3 separate regions of the Homo sapiens genome follow, and all the other regions are linked to region 1. The links are contacts of gene promoters, found by promoter capture Hi-C in blood cells and fetal thymus (Javierre and others, 2016). All regions are on one chromosome and are shown on one strand. Each heading gives the region's core, a stretch centred on a gene start or on the middle of the fragment in contact. The rest is flanking DNA. Distances are from core to core; before and after follow the strand shown. Region 1 holds the start of TEX38 (testis expressed 38). Region 2 has its middle 13 kb from the start of LINC01398. Region 3 overlaps DMBX1 (diencephalon/mesencephalon homeobox 1).

Region 1 (2,800 bases), core at 133-2,632:
ATGTCAACCAGGTATTTGGGTATGAGTCTAAAGTTCTGAGGAGCATTCCAGGCTGGAGAGATACAGTTGCGTACTGTCAGTGTATAGTGATATTTAAAGCCAGGGGTCTGGGTGAGATAACTGATGGAATGAATGTAGATAGAGCACTAAGAACTGAGCCCTAGACATGCCTACATTTAGAGATCAGGGGAAAAGGGAGAAACCAGCAAAGGAGACTGGAAAGTAGGGGCCAGTGATATACGAGGAGAACAAGGGTAAGTGGACCCTGGAGAGAATTCTGTGCTAAATAGTTCCCTAAGTCACACATTGGAGGACTATAAAGAGGGGAGTCATTAAAATGGTGCTAAGAAGCTGAGCTACAAGCAGTGGTGCAACATACTGGGAAGGCTGACTTAAGCTTAATTAGGGAAGGGCTTTCTAACTGAGCTGCCCATAAATGCATCAAGCTGCCTCAGGAGGTGGTGAGCAAGTTCCTGACTCAAGTGAGTCTTGAGTCCAGGGAGATTAGTTGCTGTGTGGGGAAAAATCTACCCCCAGGAGTCAAGCATGGCCCTGATGGTGGGATCAGATGGTGGAGATGAACTAGACAACTCTCAAAGTTTCTTCAAATTGGCGATGATATGATTCTGGGCAGTCTGTCACAGAGTAGGGGGGCTGAGCTGAGTCTTGAAGGATGAGCAGGTGTTCAGTGGTGGAAAAGTGGGCAGGGGCACTCCTGGGTGAAGGAGCAGCATGGGCACACCTCCAGAGATGTGAATGAGCAGGGTCTGTTCAGGAGTACGGACTAGGCAAAAGGGAAAAGTGTGTGGAGGACGAGGAGGGAAGTAAGGCTGGAAGTAGATGCAGGCCAGATGGTGGGAAGCCCCACAGGGCCTGGGGCCTGGGAAACACTTGTCAGCACTTGAAGGAAGGTAATTAAATAAAAGACAGATTGTTGGAGCCAAAGAAGGAGGTATTGACCACTTGGTTCCCTTGAGCAGGTTTCTTCCTGCCAACTTGGTTAGATACTTTTTGAGAACAGGGCTGCCCAATGCTGTGTGTTCCTTGTTACATTCCTCACTGGGGACAGGTATCCCATCAACCGTTCCCTAAAGACCAGCAACATCCGTAAGTACCTGAGGGACAATGGCCCTTTTCTGGGGTCTGCTCTGTGGGTTCACCATAAGGGGTAGGTACAGACAATTCAATAGGTGAACCAGTCTCTGATGGAAGTAGTAGTGACATTCCACCCAAAAAATGCCACTGGATGAAGTCCCCTCCTTCCATTAACCCAGGACCACTTCACAAGCACTGCCCCTAGAATGCCCAATTCTCAGAACCCAGTGACCTCTCCTTTAGAGAACAAAGGGCCTGGGCATTCTGGAGACTCTGATTGGCTGGGCAGATGGGCTGACTGGCTGGGCAGATGGGTGGGTGAGTTCCCTCTCCCCAGAGCCATCGGCCAGGTACCAAAGCTCAGCTGTATGGATTCCCAACAGGAGGACCTGCGCTTCCCTGGGAGTAAGTGCTCCTCCAGTCCCTGTCACTGGACTTGTGCCTTAGGGCTTGGGGACAAACACTCAGGGAAGGCCCTTTGCATGGATGGGACAGTGCCTGGCTGCCTGGAGGAGAGCTAAGCAGTTAGGAGATAGTCTACTCTAGAAAACTAAGAATTATTTTAAGGCAAAGACCATGCTCTGATCAACCAGAGAAGATACTATCAATAGCCCAGGACTATCACAGCTGAATGGAATGGGATGGGACATTGGTGTCTCTGTCAACTGATGAACTTTCACTTTTTTTTTTTTTTTTGAGATGAAGTTTTGCTCTGTTGCCCCGGCTGGAGTGCAGTGGCTCAATCTAGGCTCACTGTAACCTCCACCTCCTGGATTCAAGTGATTCTCCTGCCTCAGCCTCTGAAGTAGCTGGGACTGCAGGCATGCACCACCACACCTGGCTAATTTTAAAATTTTTAGTAGAGACGGGGTTTCACCATGTTGGCCAGGCTGGACTTGAAGTCCTGACCTCAAGTGATCTGCCCACCTGGGCCTCACAAAGTGCTGGTGAACTTTTGCTTCTTGATGGACTTGCCCATAGTGAAACTTCTCAGTCTGATGGATTGGATGGGTCCTGGGTTAGGAATCAGAGGCTTGACTGAGCCTGGGCAGCACATGCCCCCGCTAGACCTAGCTTTTGTGATCTGTAAAGAGTTAAAGGTGGTGCTTAAGCTCCCTGGAAATCTAGCTTTGACTGAATAAGGGAATGATGAGGCAAGTCAATAAGGGAGGGAAGGAACGGTGAGAGTAGTTAAGTGGATGGAGCGATTGATGCATGGGTTAAGTGAAAGAGGAATGAGAAACAGCTCAGGCCCCAAGCTACAGCTATCAGCCAGCATGCCTCTTTTTCTTTCTTGCTGCCTTAGTGTGGGTCTCATTGTACTTTGGAATCCTGGGGCTGTGTTCTGTGATAACTGGAGGGTGCATTATCTTTCTGCACTGGAGGAAGAACTTGAGGCGGGAAGAGCATGCCCAGCAGTGGGTGGAGGTGATGAGAGCTGCCACATTCACCTACAGCCCATTGTTGTACTGGATTAACAAGCGACGGCGCTACGGCATGAATGCAGCCATCAACACGGGCCCTGCCCCTGCTGTCACCAAGACTGAGACTGAGGTCCAGAATCCAGATGTTCTGTGGGATTTGGACATCCCCGAAGGCAGGAGCCATGCTGACCAAGACAGCAACCCCAAGGCGGAAGCCCCTGCTCCCCTGCAACCTGCACTGCAGCTGGCTCCACAGCAGCCCCAGGCCAGATCCCCATTCC
Region 2 (2,800 bases), core at 177-2,676, 240 kb before region 1:
TTCAGAGGCAGGGCAAGGGAAGGGAAGGATTCCTGGAGGAGGCAGCATTTGAGCGTGGTTTTGAGGGCCAGACATGCCAAGATGATGTGGCGTCTAGAAGGCTGTAAGATTGTTTGTAAGCGGCTGACTTTGCCTGCAGCAATATGCACGTGTGGAAGGGCTAGAAGGGGAAGCCATGGAGAGTTAGAGTCTTGAAAAGCAGTCAAAGAGATCAGACTATGCTGTGGGCAGCAGAGGGTCAGGGAATGTTGAAGCAGCTCCTATTTTTGTGGGCTGCGCCCTGGGGGAGCACATCGCCTGGGTGCTCAAGCCTCCTAGCACCCAGGCCCCTCCCTTCACATGCTGAGCTGGGCTCTGGGTCGGAATGTTTTGCAGCTACACTGGAATTGCCTCTGCCATCAAGGGGAAAAAAATCGGGTAAGTCCTGGTCTGTGCCTGTGGCCACCCCATTTAAAGATGAAACTGCCAGTCTTTCTCCCAAGGACATTTTGCTCAGCTCATATCTCCAGACAGATCAGCCCCACAGATGATGACTGAGAGGGCAGACTGCATGGTTCCCACCTGGCCTCCCCTTGTCCAGTGACTCTTGGCCCTCTGAGAAGGGCTTTTGTCCTGCTATCTAGCTTTAATCTCTTCCTTCGTCCTGACCATGACCCTGGAACCCACCCTCTGAGGCCAGGCAGTTGGGATCCCCAGGGCACAACAAATGAGAGGTGCTTGCTGGGCGCAGTGGCTCATGCCTGTAATCCCAGCACTTTGGGAGGCTGAGGTGGGCGATCACTTGAGGTCAGGAATTCGAGACCAGCCTGGCCAACATGGTGAAACCCCGTCTCTACTAGAAATACAAAAATTAGCCAGGTGTGGTGGCGGGCACCTGTAATTCCAGCTACTGGGGAGGCTGAGGCAGGAGAATCACTTGAACCCGGGAGGTGGAGGTTGTAGTAAGCAGAGATGGTGCCACTGCACTCCAGCCTGGGTGACAGAGAAAAACTTCGTCTCAAAAACCAACAAACAAAAAACAAAACACAACAAGCAAACAAAACGAGAGGTGCCTGCCTCTCTCCCCTCCTCTTTGTGCAGTGACCACGGTGGCTGGCCCCATGGCCCAGGACGTGGAGAGCCTGGCGCTGTGCCTGCAAGCCCTGCTGAGTGAAGACATGTACCGACTGGACCCCACTGTGCTCCAGATGCCCTTTAGGGAGGAGGTAAGCCAGGTGGGAGAGCAGACCTGGGGGTTTCCTTGCCCCCCACCATCATTCCTCCCTGACCTGTCTGCCATCTTACCTTCCCAGGTGAAGACCCCCTTTCCCACCCCAGGCTGCAGTGAGTGAGAAGCCCACATGCTCAGTCCAGTTTGTTTCCTTCCCCTGCTGGACACCAGCTGCTTTGGCTTCTTGGCTATCTGGAGCCATAGCTTGTAAGTGCCCCCAAAGAGGGCCTCCAGTGCCATATACCCAACCCATGCAGTTAGAATACTCAGCAAGTGTGGTTGAGAGGGTGTGGCATCCAGTTAAGCTGGGTTTTTAACCCTCTAGGTAACCCTGGCCAAGTCACATCTCTTCTTTCAGCCTTAGCCTCCCCATCAATACAATAAAGAGGTTAGGCTGGGAGATTACTCCACACCCTTCTGTCTACAGCAGCCTTCATTTATTCGTTAATTCATTCAACAACATTTGCTTGTACCAGTTGTGTGCCAGGCTCTGCGTGTCTCATCCTAACACTCTATAGAGTGAGCAGTGCTCCTCCCATTTACAGCTGGGGAGACTGAGGGGAAGTGAAATGACTTGCCTAAGATCATGTAGTTAGTAACTGGCAGAGCTGGCTTTGAACCCAGCCCTATCTAACTGCAGAACCCTCTCCATAGGGCAGTTTCTGTCTACGTCCCGGCAATGTCTGTTCCTCGGATTCCCTACACCCCTCCTAGCATTATCAACCTGAGATCATTGTATATCATCCATGATTTGCCCCTACAAACATGTGTTGTGTGACGGGTGAGGGGCGGCTGCCTTTCTGGCAGCACCCCACTTCCCAGGACTAGGGGCCCTCCATCTCAGACCCTGGTCTGGGTATTTGTCCCTATAGATCTCCAGCCTCATATTCTCCTAACATTTCTTTAGCTTAAAGATATTTGAGTCTATGCATGACTTACTCACCTGCCCACCCACTCAACTCCAACCATCCATTCACCCACTCACCCACATATGCATTCAACCCTCTGCCCACCCAACTACCCACCATCTCATACATACATCCACCCACCCACCCAGGAGTCTGTCTACCATCTATCTACTATCCACCCCATCTGCCCAACCACCCATCTCATCCATTTCTCTTTCCTCCAGGGGTTTCCGCAGAGCACCTAGAGCCTGGAGAGTATATAGGGAGGCTCCCAGGGGGTCTTGGGGTGTCCACATGGATTCCCCCCTTTGTGAGGACAGCTGTAGACCAAGGCCCTGCCCTTAAAGTCTGGCTCCTGGATAGAGTGGGGCCACCTTGTCCCCAGCACAATCTCTCCTCCGAGCTCCATCCAGCCCCTTGTGCCCCTAGGTTTACACCAGTAACCGGCCCCTTCGAATTGGCTACTATGAATCAGATGGTTACATCCAGCCATCCCCTAGCATGGCCAGGGCTGTGCAGCTCACCTCCTGGCTGCTCCAGGATGCTTGACACCAGGTAGTCTCACCTGGTCCTGGGTGAGAGAGAGTCTGGGCCAGTGCGAGGATGCTGGGCGGGGCCATCCTTGGAGACAAAGGTGGCTACATCTGCGTTTGAGGTGCTGAGATAACTGTGTTCCCCCTAT
Region 3 (2,800 bases), core at 128-2,627, 160 kb before region 1:
TCAGGGACAGGGGGCTCATGTCCGCTGGTGGGGGCAGAGGAACTGGGGTGTTCAGCCCACCCCCAACTCTCTAATTCTTAGGAAGGAAGGACATGAACTCCAAGTGAGCCTTTGTATGGAGGCCTTGCCTTCCAGCAGAGGCTCTGCCGGCGGTTTAGAGAGCCTGGCTTCCCTGTGACACCTACACGCCCCCCACCCCCCACCCCCCACCACCCCTGCAGTCCCTGGAGCCAGCAGTAGGATGCTGAGCTGTTGCTCCTTCCCCAACCAGAGTGGGGCTGACAGAGCGGTCCCCACTCCTTCCCCTGCCCCAGGATGACTCAGCTCAGGGCTGAGTCAGGCCTAGGATTAAGGTCAGTCTGTGAGGGGTTCAGGACTCTCTTTTTAAACTGAAGAAGAAGTATCTCAAAGTCTGGGGCTTCCTGGATACCCAGTTGCCTCTTCCTATTCTTTTTTTTTTTGCGGAGGGGGGATGGAGTTTTGCTCTTGTTGCCCAGGCTGGAGTGCAATGGTGCCATCTTGGCTCACTGCAACCTCCGCCTCCTGGGTTCAAGCGGTTCTCCTGCCTCAGCCTCCTGAGTAGCTGGGATTACAGGGGCCCACCACCACGCTCAGCTAATTTTTTGTATTTTTAGTAGTGACAGTGTTTCATAATGTTGGCCAGGCTGGTCTCGAACTCCTGACCTCAGGTAATCCACCCGCCCAAAGTGCTGGGATTACAGGCGTGAGCCACTGTGCCGGGCCTCCTCTTCCTATTTAGGGTGCTGTGGATGACTTCCCATTCCCTGGAGGGCGGGGGAAGGACTCTGGCACCCCTTTGCAGAGGCTGAGATGACTCAAGTTCCCTTCAGCACAAACAGGGCAGGATCCACTTATGACATGATGGGAGGCAGTGAGGAGAGCGGTTACTGTCTATCCTTCAGGGGCTAGTCAAGTGAAAGGGCTGAAGGCTATACCCCAGGATGGAGGCTAGACCTCGGCCCTAGGTAGACACCTATCCTGGGTGGTTATCATGTTACCAGACATGTGGACAGGACTGTGGAATCAATGGTCCATAGTCCTGTCTCCCCTACAAACCCACAGTGGTTGGAACCAGGTCTCTTTGTCCTTCTGTTCTTGGGGAGGCAGCCACAAGGGTCAAGACTGAGTGCAACAAGCCTTACCTGAGACGTGAGCCCTGCCACCCCCACCCTCCCCGCTCCACTCTTACCCCTTAGCCAGGCTCTCTGTTCAGGAAACAGAAGAGTAGGAGCCTGAGGCCCTGCCATCAGAGACTCTAGGCCAGCTGGGATGAGGGGGTTTACATGCAGAGGACAGAGAATCAAGTGCTGGTGAATTCTGTCTGCCTAGTCAGTCCTCCCTTGACTAGACCTTGAGATGGGTACCAGCCCAGCCTGGCTTCTCATGGGCAGGGACCAGTACTCTGATGCTAAAGAAGTCTTAGTATTCAGAATCTAAGGGCTATAGGGTCTTAGAACTCCTGTGATATGGACTTACAGATTATTAGCATCATGGAGTCTCAAAGTATACTCATAGTATCCATCTTAGGGTAATACCCACCTACCCAATCCCAATGCCAAATAATGAAGACCCCCCTCAATCATATGCCTGACAGCCATTTTTGGAGTTGAGTTAGACCTCTGTGGTCCTGATAGTGCATAATGGGGTGGAGAGACCTTGAAAGCCCACAGCCATATGGAGAGGGGATGGCTGATTTCTAAGGGTAAGGGACCAGGGCCAGCTCTGGCAGCAGCCTGGGTGTCCACAGTGGGTCAGAGCAGGATAAGATTCAAAGCTATTTCCCATAATTAAATGGGCCCCCTCTCCTTGCCCTCCAACGGCTGTACATTTCAAGACATCATCTTGGAGGCCCGTTATGGTTCCCAGCACCGCAAACAACGTCGCAGCCGCACAGCGTTCACGGCTCAGCAGCTCGAGGCCCTGGAAAAGACCTTCCAGAAGACTCACTACCCAGATGTGGTGATGCGTGAGAGGCTGGCCATGTGCACCAACCTGCCTGAGGCCCGGGTGCAGGTAGGGCCCAACTCTCCTAACTAGGCCTTGCAGACAAACACCAGCCCATCAGTCTGCCCGCTTGTCCAGGAGCCAGCATGTCATCCCTGTGCCAAGGTGCAACTGATCTCTCCATCAAAGCCTTCAGTGATAGGAGGGGAGTTTGGGAAGGGACAGAGGGTGTGCATTCCCTAGAGGGGTGGGGGGATGTTATCACGTACATCCTCTCCCAGAGCACCCTGCTCCACACCAACCCCACTTCTTTCTTGCCCACCTCGGACTGCTCCTTTCCCGTCCCCAGGTGTGGTTCAAGAACCGCCGGGCCAAGTTCCGGAAGAAGCAGCGTAGCCTGCAGAAGGAACAGCTCCAGAAGCAGAAGGAGGCTGAGGGCTCCCATGGGGAAGGCAAGGCCGAGGCCCCCACTCCAGATACCCAGCTGGACACTGAGCAGCCCCCACGTCTGCCTGGCAGCGACCCCCCTGCTGAGCTTCACCTGAGTCTGTCTGAGCAGTCAGCCAGTGAGTCAGCCCCCGAGGATCAGCCGGACCGTGAGGAGGACCCCAGGGCAGGGGCTGAGGACCCCAAAGCTGAGAAGAGCCCTGGGGCTGACAGCAAGGGGCTGGGCTGCAAGAGGGGCAGCCCCAAGGCAGGTGAGGTCTGAGGGGTACCATGGGAGGGCTGGGGTCTGGGGGCCCTGAGCGTGTGAAGCAAGTCAGAGGCGAGTAATCAACTGCCCCTCAGGGGCATGGCGCATCAGAAAGGACTGACCACAGCAGGCCTGGGCCAG

What was found. Contacts are between HindIII fragments. The CHiCAGO score rates a contact against its expected background, and 5 or more counts as called.
Region 2: a contact is called between a fragment that was not itself captured here and the fragment with the promoter of TEX38 in region 1, in 2 of 17 cell types (erythroblasts and megakaryocytes). The highest score is 6.0, in erythroblasts.
Region 3: a fragment that was not itself captured here is called in contact with the fragment with the promoter of TEX38 in region 1 in 1 of 17 cell types (neutrophils); the score reaches 5.4 in neutrophils.

The regions. Positions count from the first base shown.
Region 1 is chr1:46,670,472-46,673,271 of GRCh38, forward strand. It overlaps TEX38 (testis expressed 38), which reads left to right and starts at 1,383. Exons shown (of 2, transcript NM_001145474.4): 1 at 1,383-1,500; 2 at 2,402-2,800. The coding sequence starts at 1,464. The HindIII fragment of the contact is 3,767 bases long and covers 396-2,800 here.
Region 2 is chr1:46,434,832-46,437,631 of GRCh38, forward strand. It overlaps the pseudogene FAAHP1. Among named protein-coding and RNA genes, the nearest start is that of LINC01398, 13 kb to the right of the region's middle. The HindIII fragment of the contact is 2,886 bases long and covers 1-2,800 here.
Region 3 is chr1:46,508,621-46,511,420 of GRCh38, forward strand. DMBX1 (diencephalon/mesencephalon homeobox 1) reads left to right here. Exons shown (of 6, transcript NM_172225.2): 4 at 1,856-2,034; 5 at 2,315-2,663. Among named protein-coding and RNA genes, the nearest start is that of DMBX1, 20 kb to the left of the region's middle. The HindIII fragment of the contact is 5,483 bases long and covers 1-2,800 here.